Linked DNA regions of Homo sapiens: regions 2, 3, 4, 5 and 6 are each linked to region 1. Evidence: promoter capture Hi-C in 16 types of primary human blood cells and fetal thymus (Javierre and others, 2016). All regions are on one chromosome and are shown on one strand. Each heading gives the region's core, a stretch centred on a gene start or on the middle of the fragment in contact. The rest is flanking DNA. Distances are from core to core; before and after follow the strand shown.

The links. Contacts are between HindIII fragments. The CHiCAGO score rates a contact against its expected background, and 5 or more counts as called.
Region 2: a contact is called between a fragment that was not itself captured here and the fragment with the promoter of MYL12B in region 1, in 1 of 17 cell types (neutrophils). The highest score is 6.2, in neutrophils.
Region 3: a contact is called between a fragment that was not itself captured here and the fragment with the promoter of MYL12B in region 1, in 1 of 17 cell types (neutrophils). The highest score is 6.6, in neutrophils.
Region 4: a contact is called between a fragment that was not itself captured here and the fragment with the promoter of MYL12B in region 1, in 1 of 17 cell types (neutrophils). The highest score is 6.6, in neutrophils.
Region 5: a fragment that was not itself captured here is called in contact with the fragment with the promoter of MYL12B in region 1 in 2 of 17 cell types (M1 macrophages and M0 macrophages); the score reaches 5.8 in M1 macrophages.
Region 6: a contact is called between a fragment that was not itself captured here and the fragment with the promoter of MYL12B in region 1, in 1 of 17 cell types (neutrophils). The highest score is 7.9, in neutrophils.

What each region holds. Positions count from the first base shown.
Region 1 is chr18:3,260,649-3,264,042 of GRCh38, forward strand. It overlaps MYL12B (myosin light chain 12B), which reads left to right and starts at 1,485. Exons shown (of 4, transcript NM_033546.4): 1 at 1,485-1,589. MYL12-AS1 (MYL12A and MYL12B antisense RNA 1) reads right to left here and starts at 1,711. Exons shown (of 4, transcript NR_130145.1): 1 at 1,405-1,711; 2 at 624-682. RefSeq lists an enhancer at 881-930 and a silencer at 1,141-2,030. The HindIII fragment of the contact is 3,443 bases long and covers 1-2,895 here.
Region 2 is chr18:2,691,357-2,694,750 of GRCh38, forward strand. It overlaps SMCHD1 (structural maintenance of chromosomes flexible hinge domain containing 1), which reads left to right. Exons shown (of 48, transcript NM_015295.3): 8 at 3,171-3,337. Among named protein-coding and RNA genes, the nearest start is that of SMCHD1, 37 kb to the left of the region's middle. The HindIII fragment of the contact is 3,138 bases long and covers 1-3,049 here.
Region 3 is chr18:2,708,868-2,712,261 of GRCh38, forward strand. All of the region lies in intron 17 of SMCHD1 (structural maintenance of chromosomes flexible hinge domain containing 1), which reads left to right. Among named protein-coding and RNA genes, the nearest start is that of SMCHD1, 55 kb to the left of the region's middle. The HindIII fragment of the contact is 775 bases long and covers 1,120-1,894 here.
Region 4 is chr18:2,727,719-2,731,112 of GRCh38, forward strand. It overlaps SMCHD1 (structural maintenance of chromosomes flexible hinge domain containing 1), which reads left to right. Exons shown (of 48, transcript NM_015295.3): 23 at 739-878; 24 at 1,557-1,691. Among named protein-coding and RNA genes, the nearest start is that of SMCHD1, 74 kb to the left of the region's middle. The HindIII fragment of the contact is 1,448 bases long and covers 882-2,329 here.
Region 5 is chr18:3,783,913-3,787,306 of GRCh38, forward strand. All of the region lies in intron 5 of DLGAP1 (DLG associated protein 1), which reads right to left. Among named protein-coding and RNA genes, the nearest start is that of DLGAP1-AS3, 93 kb to the right of the region's middle. The HindIII fragment of the contact is 620 bases long and covers 1,271-1,890 here.
Region 6 is chr18:2,746,490-2,749,883 of GRCh38, forward strand. SMCHD1 (structural maintenance of chromosomes flexible hinge domain containing 1) reads left to right here. Exons shown (of 48, transcript NM_015295.3): 30 at 1,033-1,158. Among named protein-coding and RNA genes, the nearest start is that of SMCHD1, 92 kb to the left of the region's middle. The HindIII fragment of the contact is 3,053 bases long and covers 1-3,052 here.

The sequences.
Region 1 (3,394 bases), core at 235-2,734:
GTGACCCCATCTCTAAAAATAAAACGTATCAAATACAACTGAGGAACTAAATTTAAGTTTAGCTGCATGTGGTTAGTGACGATTGTATTGGACAGCACAATTCTAGAAACTTTTTTTTTTTTAATTTAGACTATCGAACCAAAACCTAAGAGTAAATATTGTAGAACCAGGTGTGACTTTTCAGCAATTGCTTTTCTAACACTATTGAGAAAATACACACAGTTATGAACCGCGTTTAGAGCTGTGCTGCTGGGATGGCGACCACCCCATCAGCATCATGTGTGCTTACCAGAAATTCGAATTATCCTCCACCCCTTACTCACTGAATCCTGATACCCGGTTTTGAGGCTCAAAAATGTTTTTAAAAGCCCTGTTATTATGCGTGCTACTGTTTAAGAACTGCTACAGAGTGCTGAACACAAGGTCCCTCTCTTCTAGGAATTTCTGATCAAAGATTTCTAGAATATAAACTCCCTAAGAGGCTTTGAATTCATCTCTCAGCATCCGGCACATGTTAAGGCAGTAAGAAGAGTTCAATAAAGATTTGCTATTAGATTGCCGATCCTCCACCATCCTGAAGTAATGCTATTTTAGTAATGCTAGATGAAGTAATGCTAGATTACCTCAAGGTGAGGGAAAATATCCTGAAGAACACAGCCACAAACACGATCTAGAACAAAACCTGAAAAACGTAGCTTTGTGTTTTTATTTGTGTGTGCATGTATGTGTGTGCGTTGCCATTTTCTTGATAAAGGAAAGCAAGTAGTTCGAATAAAACTTTCTTGTGGCCAAAAGGGGAATCAAACAGCCGTAGGCTGCGGCCGTAGCCTGATACGGCCGTAAACCTTATGAGGGTAAGCAGAGAGGAGTAGGTTAAAGAATTTAACTCGGGCTGTAATGCGGTTTGAAAAGAGAAAGGGATTCTGGAACGGAGAAGAATCCGCCCAGGCGCCGCCCTCACCTTCTCAACATTACATGAGACGAACCCTAAAACCTGTCTTGTCTGAAATTCAAATTTAGAAGAACTGTACTTTTACTTGCTACATCTGGCAACTCAGGGTTCGGCGCCAGGGGACCCCAAATCCTAGGCGGATCGCGCCCCGCCTGGGTCAAAGGGGACCCCAAATCCTCGGCCGATCGCGGCCCACTCGGGTCAAATTCCAGCGGCCTGCCCAGCCGCGCCCAGCGGGCCCAGGAATGCGGAAGGGTGGCGGAGCTACCAAAGGAGCGGGGGACGAGGGCCGGGCTGCGGACGACCGCCGCAGCGCAGGCCGCGATATCGCAGCGGATCGGAGCAGGCCGGAGGGGCAATTAAGACCCCGGCCGTGTGCGTCCGGCCTCAGCAGCCCCGCCGCTCGGCGGACACGCAGACCCCGCCGGCCCGGGCGCGAACACTCAGCGCACCCCCGTTCCACTTGGTCCCGCCGCGCCTTCCGGTGCGCCTTCCGGTGCGCCTTCCGGTGCGCCTTCCGCTCCGCCCCTTCAGGCAGGAAGTGTCGGCGCCGCCACTGTCCGGCCACAGCCTAACGCTCTTCGCTGTCGTTTGTGGTCTCGCGCAGGGCGGCCCCGGTTCTGGTGTTTGGCGTCGGGTGAGTCGCGCTCGACTCTGCTCGCGAGACCCCTCGGGCCGCCGTCTCCGTACCCCCGCGCCCCCTCCCGTCGCGCGCCTGCGGCCGGACCCCGCCCCAGGGCGGCCAGGCGGCGGCAGGACCTGTCAGACTGGCTGAGAAGGGGGCGCGGGGCCGGAGGTGGAGGGAGGAGGGTTGGCGGCGGGAGGAGGGTTGGTGGCGAGGCCCTGGCCCGGACGTCCAGGGGCCGGGAGGCTGCAGGCGATGGAGCCGGTATGGGGAGACGCCCTGCTGGAGAAGTGGCCGGGTCCCGGCCGTGCGTGGGCCGGCCCTGCGCCACCTGGGTGACCTCAGACACCTGGGCCTTGGACGGCCCGGCTGCCCGGCGGCCAACGCCTGCCCTCCCGGCGCCGCGGCGGGTCCTGGCGGTGGATTGGGGCCGACCCGGGCGTGTTCGTGTGGAGCACCTGCCCTGTGCCCAACACTATCCTAGATGCTTTGGAGGGTGGAGGAGCCTCCTGTTGCACGGTCTTGCCTAAGGTGAAGCCTCCAAGGAAGCCATTAGCATGCCGGTAACCGAGTGTGTGGTTGATACGGGCTCAAATGTGATGATTTACATAGAGTTGTAATTCGCTCAGTGTGTCTTGCATCTTGTAAAGGTTTAGTTTATTCGTGTTGATTGAAGAAAGGACCATTAACAGAAATAGGGAAAGGTTACTTGGAAAAGAGTCGTGACCTCACTGAAGGCCTTGGATTCAACCTTAAGAGGGAGAACTTAGCGTTTCCGGCTAGATGTGTGGGAGGTGGTAACGAGCAAAACTCAAAAGCTGGGAATTGTGTCCTGTGAAAAGCAGGCCGTGGGGACACCGGCGGGTATGGAACAGAACTGTAATGACTAATAGTCGGAAATAAGGGTAGATAGGTAAGTAGGACCTTCTTATGGATGTCTTGAAAACTTAGGAGAAAGAAAAGATTATCTAAGAAGCCATAGAGAGTAATTTTGGAGTCTTCACTAACGGAGTAATAAGAAAGGGATGTTTAGAGGATTCGTTTGGCCGCTTTAGTTTAAGGTAGATTTGGAATGGTCTTTTGGTAAGAGAAGAATCAAAGCATTTAGAATTCAGTAGGACCTGATAGATTACCTTGTGAAGGCTTTGCGTTTTATAACTGAGGAAAGTGAAACCCAGAGAGGTGAGGTAATTTGTCGAAGGTGGTGGACCCTCCTGGACTTTATAACTAAGAGCACTTTTGAGTGCTTTAGGCTCTTTTGAGTGAAACAGCTTTTATGATGGCTGACTCGATGTTCGTTTATGCTTTGATGAAACTAAGCTTGAACAAGATGAACTGCAATTTCTGAAGGACAGATGTCCAGACAAGAGTTGCTAGGGTTAGGAAAGAACAGGATTTAGAGCCCCGACATGGGGCTAGTTTTCCCTTTCTCCCAAGATTCAAAGGCTCCAGGTATATCTGGGGATGAGTTTATCATACCCTTTTTGCCAGCATCTTTGTGATCTTCCTTCCTCATTCTACACATTAGCTTTGGGGTGTCATTGCTTGTTATGCCCAGGTATCCACATTTTCATGGTAGAGAATTTCAGCTGCCTGTATGCAGGATGTTACTGGCTAGTGGTTCAAGCTCTGGAGCTAGATTTCCTGAGTACAGATCCTGACTGAGCTCTGCCATTTTCTAGCTGTGTGGCAAGTTGTTTATTCTCTTTACCCTGATTTTCGTATCTGAGAGAAGAGGATGATAACAATACCTATATGATGAGTTGTCGTGAGGATTAAATGTGTTAACACATACAAAATGCTTAAATCAGTGCCTG
Region 2 (3,394 bases), core at 231-2,730, 570 kb before region 1:
TGGGTACCAACAAGTACCTGGTCTGTTTCCTTTTCTGACTAGTCTTTTCCAGCCTATTTTTGTTGGACTTCTATCTCTGATCTGTGAGCAGTTTTCAGAATGTGGGTGGAATTGGTGGTTCTTGTTCTATAGTCAACAGTCTTACCTTTTCTAAAGATGTGTTATTTGCTACTTATGTCAAAAGCTCTCAAATCTGTGTTTCGTGTGAAAACTTTTCTCAATACTGAGACACTGAATCATGCTAGCTTCAGTAAAGGAAACAGACCATCCTGGGCCTTTTAACAGAAAATATTTAATAGAGGGAATTAGATGCTTACCTGATTATTGGAAGGGCCAAAGGAATGAATTATGGGCTAAGCCTTCTAGAATGATGCCAGGAATCTGAAGTTATCCTGGAGGGATGCTGCAACATTTGCTATAATCATTCAGTTAGAGGACCACCACTGGGTCTGGGATTCAGGAACTCGCTGCTGTATCTGTGATCCACGAGTTGGAATGATCTCACTGCCACAATTGCTCCAAAACTGGAAAACAGAGTTTCTGGCCATAACTAGGGCTGCAGTGGCCTTTTGACACTTTAAACCTGAAACCTGGTTACTGATCTTTCAGTGCCTTGTGTGATAACACAAAACTTTTAAAAAACTTCAGGAAATAGCCTCTGCTTCATTTTTGGCATCCACATTTTGGCTGGTACATCTAATTGGTGAAAACTAATTTGCATCCACAATCCAAACAGTATTTTTTTGCCTTCCAACCTCTGCAGCCCAAGAGAGTACAGTAAAAGGTGGTAGGAATGGGTGATGAATACCAACTGATCATATCCAGTACACTCATTTCCAGGTTCAATTAGATGTTCTTTCTTAGGTGTTCGAGGAGTAACTCACTTTTGGTACCTTTGAAGTCAAATATTGGCTGGGCACAGTGGCTCATGCCTGTAATCCTAGCAGTTTGGGAGGCTGCGGAGGGAGAATCTCTTGAGCCCAGGAGTTCAAGACCAGCTGGGCAACATTGAGAGACCATGTCTCTTAAAAGAAAGAGATCAAATATTATCCGTAAACCTTTCTTATTCTCTCCTTCTCCTGTCTTCCTCTCAACTACCCTTTACAATTACTGGCATCCACTAGCCATGCAGTTAAAGTTGGTAATCCTTTTTGTTAATCATTCAGCACATTTAATTTTGTCTTTTATATTATTTTCTTTCATCTATCCTCTCTTCCACCCACTTTCCACTGCTCTAATTCAGCCATCCCGCTTCATCTTTTATCATGTTTATCGTATGTCCTAAAACTACCTTGTTTCCTTTATGCTCTTGAATTCATGTTCTCATTTGTCTGGAATGTTATTATTCAGTCATCTGCTGGGTGACTGTCACCCTCGTTTTACCTCTGTAGCTCTTGGTTCATATCTTCATACATAATAGCATATTGTTTTGTAATCATTTGTTTTTTCATCTCCTACCAGATGGAATTTGTAGAGCACAAAGGCACTGTCTTATTTATCTTGAACCTATCTTTCTCAGGCCCAAGTTGAGGCATAGGACTTACAGAAGATGCTTGATAAATATTTGGATAATGAATTTGCATCGTTAGTAAATTCAGACTAATCTCCTGACTCAAAGTATATGAAATGTTACTTGTATATATTGTAGCTGTGATATTAGCAATTAGTGTATAGAGATGCATTATAATGGTTTTGAAGGGGTATGGTCTTAAGGATTTATTGTTTTTTAAATCAGAAATTTTAGAATTTGATAGACAAATTCTGAAAGAGCTGTAACACTTTTTAATTAAGCAAGTAATCATACATACTTATTTTTAAAAATCAACTTGATTTCCTAGATAGAATAGTTTAGTCTGTTTTTATTTCCACAGTTTTATAATGTATATAGCAACATACACAGTAGATATAGTCTCCTATCACTTAAGGACAGGGATGCATTCTGAGAAATGTGTCATTAGGTTATTTTGTTGCTATGTGAACATCATAGAGTGTACTTATACAAACTTAGATGGCATAGCCTGCTACACACCTAGGCTATATGGTATAGGGTACTGCTCCTAGTCTACAAATTTGTACAGCTTGTTACCCCAGGCAGTTGTAACAGAATGGTAAATATTTGTGTAGCTAAACATAGAAAAGGTACACTAATTTTACAATACTGTATCATCTTATGGGACCACTGCAGTCAATTGTTGACAAAAATGTTATGTGACATATGACTGTATATGAATACACACACAAACGCGCATGCGTGCATACCATGTTTTTTGTTTGTTTGTTTGTTTGTTTGTTTGTTTTTTGAGACATGCTTGTTGCCCAGGCTGGAGTGCAGTGGCGCGATCTTGGCTCACTGCAACCTCAGCCTCCCGGGCTCAAGCGATTCTCCTGCCTCAGCCTCCCTAGTAGCTGGGTTTATAGGCGTGTACCACCACGCCTGGCTACTTTTGTATTTTAAGTAGAGATGGGGTTTCGGCTTGTTGGCCAGGCTGATCTTAAACTCCTGACCTCAGGTGATCTGCCCGCCTCAACCTCCCAAAGTGCTGGGATTACGGGAGTGAGCTACCACGCCCGGCCTGCAATTTTTTAAAACATAGATTCATACTACAGATGGAGAAGTTTGTAATTTTATCCTCAAATTCCCCTACTAACTCCCTTCCATAAGTTTTAGATATTCTCTGAAAGTGGGTTGGTGTCCAGGATGATTTTACTTTTAAGCACTATGTGTTTGGGCTTAGCTAGCTGGGTCCAGCCTGCCCTGTAGTTTTCTTGAACATGGAGGGCTGGGCATTGGTCCTGACCAAGTTAAGTGGTAGGTCTCCCAAGCAAGCGTTCATTCTACCCTAGGGGTAAGTGTCCTCAATTTTTTAAGGCATTTTAAAACTCAGTATTTGTCTTTACCTTTTCGTTTATGATTCTAAAATCGGTTTAGCATTATAAGATAGGGTGCTCTTTATGCATGCTAGTTTAGCAGTCTGTGTGAAAGTTCCCTTGTCTTCACAGTGTTGTCACATACTCAGCCAGTTTGTTGTATTGGGCCAGTTTCCTCCAAAGCTTTTCTGAAACCTATTTGTGAAACTCCAAGTAAATCACATTAAAATTTGATGCAATAGCTATTTGTATAATTATAATTTAGATGATTTAATCTGTTGTATTTCTGTTCACTCTTGTAGCCCTCTGATTCTGTTCACATTACAAATGATGATGAAAGATTTCTACATCATCTTATCATAGAGGAGAAGGAAAAAGATAGCTTTACTGCTGTGGTTATCACAGGGGTACAACCAGAACACATACAGTACTTGAAAAATTATTTCCACCTTTGGACACGACAGTTAGCGTAAGTAATTATATTTGGCTTAGGAAATGTTGCTACTTAACTTTTTTAAGGCAGAAA
Region 3 (3,394 bases), core at 257-2,756, 550 kb before region 1:
ATATATATATATATATATATATATATATATATATATATATAACATATTAACATGAAATTTATGAAGTGGCATTAAGTACATTCATATTGTTGTGCAACCATTACCACTATCCATGTAAAGCATTTTTTCATCATTTCAAACTGAAACTCTATAGTAATAACTCTTCATCACTCCTTTCTCCCTGCCCTGGTAACTACTTTTTAACTTTCTGTCTCTGAATTTGACTATTTTAGGTACCTCATAAAAATGGAATTATATTTGTCCTTTGTGTCTGGCCTGTTTCGCTTAGCATAGTGTGTCAGAATTCCCATTCCTTCTTAAGGTTGAATAATATTCCCTTGTGTGTGTATATATGTGTATATGTGTATATATATATATATATACACACACACATGTATACACATACACCATATTTTGTTTATCCATTTGTTTGATGGATACTCAGGTTACTTTCACCTGTTGTCTATCGTGAAGAATGCTCCTGTGAACATCAGTGTACAAATAGTTCTTTGAGTCTCCGCTTTGGTTCCTTTTAGATACATTCCCAAAAGTGGACTTGCTGGGTCATATTATTATTTAATTTATTGAGAAACTGCCGTACTGTTTTCCACAGTGGTTGCCTCATTGTACATTCCAGTTTCTCCATGTCACCCCCACTTGTTATTTCCTGTGGGTTTTTTTGTGGGGGACGGATAATAGCCATCCTAACAGATATGAAGTGGTATCTTACTGTGGTTTTTTCCCCCCTTTTTCCTACTAAAGATAATTGTGGTTTTGATTTGCATTTCCCCAATATTCAGTGATTTTGGCCATCTTTTTATGGGCTAATTGCCATCTGTATATCTTCTTTGGACAAAGGTCTATTCAGGTCCTTTGGCCATTTTTAAATTTTGTTGTTGAGTTGTAAGAGTTCTTTATAATCCTGGATATTAATCCCTTATCAGATAAATGATTTACAGATATTTTCTTCCACTCTGTGGGTTGCTTTTTCACTTTGTCAATGGTGACTGTGATGCACAAAACTTTTTAATTTTGACAAACAATTAGTTTCTTTTTTCTTTTGTTGGCTGTGCTTTTGGTGTCTTATCCAAGAGATTGTTACTAAATTCAGTGTTACGAAGCTTTTCCTGAATGTTTTTTCCTTACAAATTTTATAGCTTTAGCTCTGTTGTTATTACTTTGATCCATCTGACCTTGACTTTTGCATATGGTTAACTTCTTTTTATATGGAAAACTTCTTTTGCCTGTAGATATCCAGTTTTTCCAGCACCATTTGTCAAAGACTATACTTTCTCTATTGAATTGTTTTGGCCCACTTGTTGAAAGTCAGTTGACCACATATGTGAGAATTTATTTCTGGGCTCCCTGTTCCCTAGGTCTATATGTCTGTTCATATGCCCATGCTGCACTGTTTTTGTTTACTGTAGCTTTGTAAGTTTTAAAATGAGGAGGTGTGAGTCCTCCAACTTTATTCTTGTTTTTTAAGATTGTTTTGGCTATTTGGGTCCATGGAGATTCCCTATGAATGTAGGATGCGTTTTTCTATTTCTGCAGAAAACACCATTGCGATCCTGGTAGGGATTACACTGAATATGCAGATCACTTTGAGTATTATTTTTACCTTAGCAATTGTAAGTCATTCAATCCGTGAACATGATTTTGTATCTGCAACTTTGCTGAGTTTATTAGCTATACCAGGGTTTTTTTTATGGATTATTTAGGTTTTTTCATATATGAACATGTCATTTATGAACGGAAATAACTTATTCTTTTCCAAAGTGGATGCCTTTTATTTCTTTTTCTTACCTAATTGGTCTGGCTAGGACTTAAAATACTATGTTGAATAGAAGTAACCAAAATGAGAATCTTGTCCTGTTCCTGATGTTAGAGGAAAAGCTTTTAAGTCTTTAACAGTTGAGTACATGCGATGTTAACTGCGGGTCTTATATAAGGCCTTTATCATGTTGAAGAAGTTTCTTTCTATTCCTTGTGTAGTGTTTTTATCATGAAAGAGTATTGTTTTCCCAAATGTTTTCTCTGCATCAGTCCAGATAATTATGTAGGTTTATTCTCTCAAAGTGATGTATTGCGTTGATTGGTTGTTTTTTGTTTTTTGGGGTTTTTTTTGAGACGGGTTCTCACTCTGTCACCCAGGCTGGAATGATGCGGCACAGTCGTGGCTTACTGCAGCCTCAAACTCCTGGGCTCAAGTGGTCCTCCCACGTCAGCCTCCTGAGTAGCTAGGACTACAGACATGCTCATTGCACCCAGCTAATTTTTTTTTTTCTTTTTATCAATGGATGAGAGTTTTTTAAAAATATTGACGAGGTTGGCCTCGAACGCGTAGCCTCACCTCCTTATGCACCAGGACAACTGCCCTGAGCCACCATGGCTCCCTTTTTTTTTTTTTGTGGTGGAGACAGGGTCTCCTATGCTGCCCAGGCTAGTCTCAAACTCATGGCCTCAAATGACCTCTTGCCTCAGTCTCCCAAAGTGTTAGGATTACAGGCATGAGCCACTGCACGTAGCCTTGTTTGTTTTTTATTTGTTGAGCCATGCTTGCATTCCAAGAGTAAATCTCACTTGGTTGTTATGTATAGTTTGGATGTTTGTCTTTTTTTTTTTTTTTTTTTGAGACGGAGTCTCGCTCTGTCGCCCAGGCTGGAGTGCAGTGGCGGGATCTCGGCTCACTGCAAGCTCCGCCTCCCGGGTTCACGCCATTCTCCTGCCTCAGCCTCCCAAGTAGCTGGGACTACAGGCGCCCGCCACTACGCCCGGCTAATTTTTTGTATTTTTAGTAGAGACGGGGTTTCACCGTTTTAGCCGGGATGGTCTCGATCTCCTGACCTCGTGATCCGCCCGCCTCGGCCTCCCAAAGTGCTGGGATTACAGGCGTGAGCCACCGCGCCCGGCCTGGATGTTTGTCTTGATCCCCGGTGTTGGAGGTGGGACCTAATGGGAGGTTTTGGAGTCATAGGTGCACATCTCTCATGAAGGGCTTATTGTGTGAGTTCTTGCTCTATTATTTCCCATGAGAGCTGGTTGTTAAAAAGAACCTGGCACCTCCCTCACCCCTCTTTTGCCATATGATCTCTGCATACACTGGCTCCCCTTCACCTTCCACCATGAGTGGAAGCAGCCTGAGGCTTTCACCAGATGCCCAGTCTTCCAGCCAGCAGAACTGTGAACCAAATAAACATCCTTTTCTTATAAATTATTCAGCCTCAGGTATTCCTTTACAACAACACTATATAGACTAAGGTGAGTTCTTTTAAAATTGTGCTGAATTTGGCTTGCTAGCATATTGTTGAGAATTTTTGCATCAATATTCATAAGGGATTTTGGTCTGTAGTTTTCTTTTTCCTTTTTTTTTTTTTTGATGTCTGTGTCTGAC
Region 4 (3,394 bases), core at 356-2,855, 530 kb before region 1:
CTTCATTAAGATTATTGTGAAGTTTACGTAAGAATAGTGCTTAAAAAAACTTAGCACAGTGCTTCATATATAGTAAATGAATGAATATAACTAATATTAGTACAAAATAAAATATTTTAAGTAATTCTCTCCATATACTTGTTATCAGTATGTAGCATTAATTGAATTTTAAAATATCAGTGTTTATGAACGAATCAGACTGGCTTACTGTAGAAGTATAAGCCTACTTTTCTTAATCTTAAAGGAAATTTGTGATGTTAATTGCTTATGACATCAGAGGTAGTGGGCAATCTAACAAGTAAATGACCTGATCATGTCATTACAAGAACTAATTCTTTGAATGTCTAAAACATATAGTTACTTGTGCCAGAAAAATCATCAGGTAAGATTGGTAAATAGTTTTAATAAGCTGTTATTTTTGTTTTTGAATACCTTTTTCCCAGTATCTTTTAAAGATTTTAGGTGATTTCTAATATGAATTATCACTGTGTTGTACCTTGTGGAATAAAACTTAGCCTAGACACCAAGCATTTTATACAATTGAGATAAGTCTTGTCATGTATTGAATCTGTGCATTTTGGGATGAAACTGATTAAGCATGGACATTGCCTATATTTTTCTTTCTTGGCAATATTTATAAAATATTAAGTCTTTAATGTTAAAGTTATTTCTTTTGCTATTTCAGTACTTTAGTCTTTGAAACCTGAATATGTATTTCATTGTATAATTTACTGTTAGGTCACCCTCGTCGACTGAAAGTGAAACCTGATTCTGAAATTTTAGTTATAGAAAATGGAACAGCTTTCCCATTTCAGGTGGAAGTTTTAGATGAATCAGACAACATAACAGCACAACCAAAATTGATTGTTCATTGTAAGGTAAGCTTATTGGAAGATATTTAGATTGAGTCCCATTGTAGTAAGTGGCAATGACTATTTTAGCCACTTAATAGTAAGTCTTACACAGGATTTAAGTCTGAAACGATTATTCCGTGGAAGGATTTGTGGGATCTTATTGCCAATAGTTTTTTTTTTTTAATCGTACCTAAACCAATAAAGATGCCAACTGTGCCCAGTTTCATAAATTTGTGAATAAAAGTTTACTCACCTCTCCTCTCTTGACTCCATGCCTCTCATTTCATATATATGAATAGAAAGACAAAAATGTCTTTCAGGATTGGGAATGGGCTGCTCTGCCTATGGAGTAGCCATTCTTTATTCCTTTACTTTAGGGAAAAAAAAAAAAAGGGAATGATGACTAAATGAAGGTAGGTAAAAGACCGCAGAAAGAAAAAGAAAATCCAGTTAAGTAAAAAAGAAAAGGATTGTAATTGAGGAAGTTAGTTCTTTCCTTCCAAAACAGATAAATTTTACATAGTATAGTAGAAAATTACTGTTTTTGTTCAGTATTCTAGAGTTTTAGTGACTTTTACTTAGAATTTTCTTATTCATTGCCAGAAATAGTAGCTCTACTGAATTATTTGAAACTTTGAACAATTACGGAAGAATCAAATATATTTAATAGGGGTCTTACATTATTTTTCATCTTTCAAATAGTTTTCAGGTGCTCCAAACCTTCCAGTCTATGTTGTAGATTGCAGTAGTTCTGGAACCAGTATTTTAACAGGATCTGCAATTCAAGTTCAGAATATTAAAAAAGACCAGACGCTTAAAGCAAGAATTGAAATACCTGTAAGTTATTATTGTTACTCATTGATATTATATTGAGTCTTCATACAAATAGTCTTCAACTGCTTAATAACATTTTTTGCAAAATTGTTAACTTCTGAAAATGAGGTATTTGTGGTTCTTTCAGCCAAAGCAAAGCAAAGACAATATGAAATGCTGTAATGACTATTTTAACATTTTGTGTCAAATATTAGTAATTGTCTTGATTTTTACAGTGTCTTTTATAGTGTCTATAACTATTATTGATTTACATTTCCCTAAAATATTTTTCTTCTATTAAAATACATAATTTTATTCTTTCGCTTTTTTTTTTTTTTAAAGAGATAGGGTCTCACTCTGTTGTCTAGGCTGGAGTGCAGTGGCACAATCATGACTTGCTGCAGCCTCCAACTCCTAAGCTCTAGTGATGTGCTCACCTCAGCCTCCCAAGTAACTGGGACTATAGACAAGGACCAATGCACCTGGTTATTTATTTATTATTTATTTTTTGAAAAAGAGGGTCTTGCTGTGTTGCCCAGTCTGATCTCAACTTCCTGTCCACAAGCAGTCTTCCCACCTTGGCCACCCAAAGTGCTGAAGTTATAGGTGTGCACCACTGTGCCCAGCCATTTTGCTTTTTATCGTTCTCATTTGTTTTAGAAAGCTTGGTAAATATCTCTGTTTAAACCACCATGGAAGGACATATAAACCTTTAATTTTTGTATGTAATTTTCTATACACACATAGCTTTTTATTTGTGTTTTTACACAAAGGGATTTTTTTTATTTCTATTTATATTTTTTGAGATGGAATCTTGCTCTGTTGCCCAGGCTGGAGTACAGTGGCACGATCTCAGCTCACTGCAAGCTCTGCCTCCTGGGTTCACGCCATTCCCCTGCCTCAGCCTCCCCAGTAGCTGGGACTACAGGCACCCGCCACCACGCCTGACTGATTTTTTGTATTTTTAGTAGAGATGGGGTTTCACCGTGTTAGCCAGGATGGTCTCGACCTCCTGAGCTCGTGATCCACCCACCTCGGCCTCCCAAAGTGCTGGGATTACAGGCGTGAGCCACCGTGCCTGGCCCACAAAGGGATTTCTATATCATGTGCCAGTAGGATGCTTTTTATTGGTGATTCATCGTGGCTGATAGCAAAGCCAACATGGAGGCAAGAGCTGTAAACAATCTAAGGTTGTGGAGTGGGATAACAAATACTTAAGTAAAACTTCAAAGGTTGCTGAGTAGGGTAACAGATACTTAAGTAAAATACTTAAATGTGATTTCTTAGTAATTGATATGGTGATAGATAATCTAATTGGTTGATTAACTCATACTTTCCTACTAATTATACATCAGTTATTAACATAGCTTGAACCTCAAATGGATACAAGATGTCTTTTACTTTTTAAATTAGAATGAGATGACTCTTCATTCCAGTTCTTTTTAAGCTTGTTATATTTGATAAGCTTAAAGTATTTTTTATGCATTTTCTTTATGCAATAATATGGGCAACATACTTTTGAGCACACTTTCTTGCAAAAGATGACTATGAATTAGGGAGGAATCTGGACTTGGAGGCAAGAGCAGCAGGCATTAGGACTTTTGTAAATACTACAGACCACTCAGGAGAAGACCAAGAATTCAGGTCAGTTAAAACAAATGCCAACGTAAATCCTCTAATAGGCAGTTACAAAATGTTATCCAATGGCAATAACTGAGTTTAGGAGT
Region 5 (3,394 bases), core at 331-2,830, 520 kb after region 1:
TGTCCTCATAAGTGAAACCGATGTTTAAGCACTGAGGTAAAGTGCTTAAATTAATCTGCTTTTTGTCTGCTTTTTGCTCCTGGCCCCTGGCTGGTGGGCTCATTTTTCTCTCTGTATGCTGATCTTGTGTGTCCAACAAAAGCATAATTTCCAAATTTGAGCATGAGGTCTTTTGTCTACAATGGAAGTCATTGCACAGACTAGAGTGTAAAGAAACAAATTGTGTTTGTGTGTATGTTTGCAAATCCATGTGTAAGTGGGAGGCCGATGAAGGGAGAAGTGTCAGCCCCCAAGCCATTGTTTGTTCCTGTGTGCTGCATCCTAGGCTCCCCCGAGTTGGCCTGTTTAGGCGCACAAGGCACCTCATCTCGGCTGCTTCTTTCTTGGACCCCCCCTAGTTGTTGGGTCTCGATGTGTAGCAACAACCTGGGGGCCGGGTACTCACCAACCTCTATCCTAGCCTTCTTTTCTATCAAGGTTTGTTTTCCGTTTTCTTCTTCTTTTTCGTAAGCTGTTATAGTCTCTGGAATGACTTGGGTCTGCCGTGTATGTGTTATTTTTTAAGAATCCTGGAGAATCTATTTTTACTCCTCTGTTCAGGTGTCCAAATGCTGAAGACATTTTCTCCCAATCAACGGCAACCCACCCACAATGTCAGTGCGTTCTCTGATTAGGCCTCTTGATGACGGCCGGATCCCTGCCCGGCTCTGCGCCCGCGATGCTCCTGGGGTGCCCACACAGAACTGCTCCTGACGAGGAAAAAAGGGGGACGTTCCAGGCCCAGTCTGGATCCAGTGCAATGAGCGAGAGCCTTGGGGAAAAGGCGCTGCCAGAATTTTATTTTGTTAAAAACTGTATTGAGAAAACAAAGATAATCTCTAGAATTGGTTCTAAAATTCAAGTGAAACCTGTAAACATGCAGGTGACAGGGCTCTGGCTGCCTCCCTGGCCTCGTCTTCTACCCCTTGTCCCTTGTCCTCCTGCTGCCAGCCACTGGCCTTCTTGCTGCTCCCTGTATCATACAACCACGCTCCTGCTGCAAGGCCTTTTCTGGGTTTGTAAAATGAAAACCCAGGTACTTCTCCCTTTAAAAAAAATCCACCTTACTTTACAGACTGAAAAATAATGACTGCTTCCCTTCTCATATGTTTTTAAATAATCTATGCAGCAGTTGTGCATTCATTCACTTCATTTGTGCTCCCACTGATGGAAGTAGTTTTGAAGAACAGGCTGTATTAGTTTCCTGTTGCTGCTGTAACAAATTACCACAAGCTTAGAGGCTTAGAAAACCCACAGAGTTATTATCTTACAGTTCTGGAGGCTGGAAGGCTGGAATGGGTCTTAAGGGCTGCAGTCAAGGTCTCAGCAGGGCTGAGTTGCTTACGGATGCTGGAGGGGACAGCCTGTTCCTTTGCTTTGTAGGGGCCCAAGGAAAACATCCCCTTCGCCCTCTGAAGGTTCACTGAAAAACTGGCTGACAAAAAGCAGATTAATAGAAAAAAAGGCATGCAACATTTATTCTAATGTGCATAGCATGGGAGAATTGCAGGAGAATGAGTACTCAATAACTCAGTGGAGTACAGATCTTATAAAGCCTTCTGCCTAGGGGAGGGGGACATGGGGGAATGTAGACCATTCTTTTGAGGGGCAGTAAATGATCATTAGGGAGAATGAATGGGCCTAGAAGACAGAAATTAACTTGTAAATGGAATTTGGATTTTGAATGAACCTGGGAGGTATTGTCTTGTGAAAAGGTCTGTCCAGGTGGGTTTGCATCCTCAGTGTTCTTTTCTGAGATAGCGAATGAGATTTACAGGGATGGGAGGTGGAAGGCAACTGTGGTTCTCTTTGGGGTCTGGTTCCCAGGTGGATAAGAGAATACCGAAGAAAAGCTTCGCCCTATGCCTTAGGAGAAACAGAGGATTGAAAGGGAGCAGGGGAGCAGGTCAGAGAGACCTTGAGGACTTTGAGGCTACTTCTGTAGTTCAGTCATATTTTGGGGTAAAGTGTGCTGGCTTCCTTCAGCCTTTTTTCCCTCCTAGAGGCAGTCTATATTTCTTGGCTGTGGCCCTTTCTTACATCTTCAAAGCCAGTGGTGCAGCATCCTCCAATGCTTCCTTCTCTCTCCAACTCTGCTTCTGCTGTCATCTCCTCCCCTGACCCAGACCCTCCTGCCTCCCTTTTATAAGATCCCTCAGATGACATTGATCTCACTGGGATAATCTCTTCATCTCAAGATCCTGAACTTAATCACATCTGCAAAGTCCATTTTGTCATGTAAGGTAACAAATTCACAGGTTCTAGGGATTGGGATTTAGACATCTTTGGGGGGCATTATTCTCCCATCCACAGAGGTCAAAGGCTGAGATAATTCAAATGCATTATTTTGCACCAAATGCTCCCATTTGGTTTTTATGATGACGATGATGATGACTAGATAGGCCCCTATGTAGTACTAGGAAACCAAAAATAGTTACAGAAAATAGAAATAAACCTGTTAAAATACTTAATGAGAATAAACCAGTAAAAATTACAGAGGCACATGTGGGCTTAGTGAATAATATCTTTCTAATGCAGAGAAGATGTCATCCATGGAAAAGGCTATCAGTGGTATGTGTGGTCTTGGGTTTGGACTAGCTATGGTGCGTGCCAGCATGGAACTCTCCAACTTCAGCAGTCCTTGGTTCTGACAAGGAACTCTCAGCATTTGACCAATCACCTGCAGTCACAGGTGAGAACATGGGGCCCTCACTGAGCAAAGACCAAGCCTTTTAAGTGTACCTCAAAAATAAGCTAAGTTAATGGAAAATAGGAGTGAATGACTGCAGTGTTTATTTTTAAATTGCTTTCAAGTGGTGCATCTGTTGTATAAAACAAGACATTTCAGCTCAATAAATTTTTGGACAATGTCTCCTCTAGTTATCAGAAACTTGGTATTAATGACGAACTCTGGCTTCTAGCTCAAAGTCAAAGAACAGTGGAAAATGAATGTGCTTCAATGAGGAACCACAACCTAATAGAGATTTCATGGAGTGTGTTGTTCGCATTTTTACATTGTCTTAGATGAAAGCAGTGAATAAGTACCAAATGGTGAATCTTGAAACCCATCATGGGAGAATTAGCAGTGGTTATTTGTGCAACAAGCAGAAGTAATGAGTATTACAAGAGAACTTAGGTTTCTAAAAACAAGTTTAGGAAAAATGCTCATGATAATCAAAATAGGAACATCATGAAATGGCTTTAGATTTTTTGGGCATAGATATATGGTCACATTAAAGTAAATGAGAGGGGCCAGGCGTGGTGGCTTACACCTGTAATCCCAGCACTTTGGGAGGCCGAGGCGGGCGGATCACAAGATCAGGAGTTCAAAACCAGCCTGGCCGATATGGTGAAA
Region 6 (3,394 bases), core at 276-2,775, 510 kb before region 1:
GCTTTTTATAAACTTTGGCAGAGGGAACATGGCTGTAGCTGTGTAAACTTTATGGTAGAGGGACATAACTAAACCAATCTCAAGGGTGTTTGGTTTTTTTCATAATGTCTTATTCATAGCAGACTGTTAATTTTTCTTTCCATTTTCAGCAGCCTTTCCCCATAATCTGGTAACCAGCTACCTCAGTTAAGAGTAGGGGGTAGAAGCAGCAGAAGGAACTTTCTTGTTAGAGGAGAGGTGATAAATCAGTTTTTTTTTGTAGTTGTCCTTTAGTTCCCTTCCATCTTTTGTAAACTTTTAAAATGTTGGCCCAGGGGATTGGGCTTTTGTCAGGTATCTTGTTTAACACTGTGTTTCCTTTGATGTGCCCAATATTAATAGGTCAGTAGGCAGATTTCTAGATTTATACAGCCTTATATACTAGCTGGGGAAACAGCAAGAAGCATTTTAAATCAGCAAGACAGTGTAGATCATCAGTGAATAGTCCTATTTAACCAAGGGCTAGAAAGCCATGTTACTGCTTTTAATGCACAATAGCAGAGAGCTGAACACTGACTGAGGGAGAAGCTAAACTACAGATTGCCAATGCTAAATCTGAGAACCAAAGATAGGTTTCTGTTGCTGTTGAACACATTCTAGTGCTTACATAGCATTTGCGTTGTATTAGATGTTAAAAGTAATCTAAAGATGATTTCAAGTGTATGCTTAGGTTATATGCAAATACTATGCAATTTTATATAAAAGAGTACCTGCAGCTTTTGGTATCCACTGGGGTCTAGAACCAATCTCCTGTGGATACTGAGGGAAGACTGTAATGTCAGGTGTTGCTTTTTCTTTTTTCAGATCATTTATCATTTTGATAAGAGGGTCACACAATTTAGTTGGCTTTCAAAAGTTCATTTTCATTGACCAAAGAAGCCATTTGCAAATAGAACAGAGATAAATTAAGTGATCGTTACACAAATATACAAGTAATTGCATTGTTTGGCCCATATATTTTAGTGTTTCTTAAAATATTTCTATTCTTTTCAGTCCATTCCAGTGATTAATGGAAGAGATTTACAGAACCCTATTATTGTTCAACTTTGTGATCAGTGGGATAATCCAGCACCGGTACAACATGTTAAAATAAGTCTTACAAAAGCTAGCAATTTAAAGGTAAGTTTTAAACTTCCTTACATCTTCATTTAAAATTCTGGATTTCATTTTCATGATAGTATCTTTAGCTGTCATATTGCTTCTTTTCTAAAAAATATATTTTACATAATCTTTATTATTGCTTAGTGTAAATAAACCTCAAAAATTTTTAAAATTATTTTGAGGAAATAAAGTTTATATCTTACAGTAGTACAACAAGGGGCCAACATTGTACAGTTATGGCTGTTTTAGTGTTTCTTATATAGTGCTAGTAAGACTTGCATTTCAGATTAGGATGAATAAATAGATAATTAACACTGACAAAGTGAATGAAGACAGATATCACAGTGACCTACAGAATGGATTAAGGAACAGGCATTATTGGGGAAACATACATGGTGAGGCTAAACAAAAAAAGTCTTGCAGGTACCTATCCTCTACTTATCTTATGGAGAGCTACCAAATCCTGGGCAGAGCTACTGGAACATACTGATATATTTTAGGGTGAGGCTCCTGCCCTTTATTGTTCTTTTTATGGGGCAAGTATGAACATGGTCTTGTAAAGTTTGGGAACAGTCTTGACTACCAGAAAGTTCAAGATTAGGTATCATTTATTCCTATGAGTATTGAGAAGCTGCATGGGATCTAGTGGCTGGTGCAAAGTTGGAGGCACTCCTTCTAGGGGAAAGAGGAAAAGCTGCTAGTCTTTGCAAAGTTGTGTGTGTGTGTGTGTGTGTGTGTGTGTGTGTGTGTGTGTATATAAATTTTTTTTTTTTTTTTTTTGGAGACAGAGTCTCGCTGCAACGCCCCAGGCTGGAGTGCAGTGGCGTGATCTTGGCTCACTGCAACCTCTGCCTCCCAGGTTCAAAGCAATTCTCCTGCCTCCGCCTCCTGAGTAGTTGGGATTACAGGCATGTGCCATCATGCCCAGCTAATTTTTGTATTTTTAGTACAGACGGGGTTTCACCACGTTGGCCAGGCTGGTCTCAAACTCTTGACCGCGGGTGATCCACCCGCCTTGGTCTCCCAAAGTGCTGGGATTACAGGTGTGAGCCACTGCGCCTGGCCATAAAGTTGTATTTTTATACTGTCTCTTCTGTTGGTTGAAGGGAATTCATTGGTCCCAGCCAGGTTGTTGCTAAGCAAGCCAGAGGGAGTTGGGGTCATATTCAGACAATCTTGAGTATCCCTCCACATATAAAAAATAAATATAAATGTAATGGAGAAACCAGTTGATATCATGTAAAGATGATGTTTCTCTTGCAATTATTTATAGTTCAATCAGAATCCCAACAGGGATTTCCCAGAACCTGAAAAGGTGATCTTAAAAGTCGTATGGAAGATTAAAGTGCCAAGAATGGCTTGTTACACATGGACCTGTTTTCATAGTAATTACAGTTGGAGTTTTTAAATGAGTCTGTTAAATGAGGCTATGATACTGCTGCTCTAAGACCTGAAAAGACTTACTTCTCTGGCTTAGCAGTAAGGATTTGATACCCAGATGGGAGACATACTTTGAGAAAGATGGGTTGAGAGACAATGGACCAGAGGGTAATTGGGACAGGTATAAACATAGGATTTCATCCTATCATTTCAAGTACCCTTTCTCATTTTTTCCTGTTCAGCTATTGCTTTTCCTGTCTGCATGTACCATTATTACCTACTCTTTAGGTTCTATTAAGTTGAGATGGGTTTTAGGATTTGGGAGAAAGTCTGATTTTTCTTCTACTGTGGTCTACAAATTCACTGTTATTCTGAATGTTTGCTTCCAGTAGAGTTAGACAATGATTACTTTCAACCCCAGAATAAAGATATGATTCTAGTTTCTGGAGAACCATCTGTAAAAGGCTGAGAGACCCTTCTAGACCAGTTATTAGGAAATGTGGCCACTGATTCTTAATCTCTTGAAAGTGAAAGCTTGGTTATCACTGTGAATGTAGTATTGCAGCAAAAATTTGAGAAGTGTATCTGAGTAGACTTTCAAGAGAAAAATGAAGAATGAAGATAGTGCTATGATGCTTTGACTTGAGTATGTGTGTACAGTATATATTTCTCCAGTGCAGTCCCCTATACCTGCCCCAGCTTTAGAATATACCTTCTGTGTTTGTGTAAACAAACTTCATTTGATCTATCAGTGATATTGAAACAGTGAACTAGAAATCTGCAACTTAGTAACTGAAATACATTAAATTCTAGTGAAATTGATCAAGATGAGTGATTGTTATTCTACTTTGGATTATATCATTACATACTACAT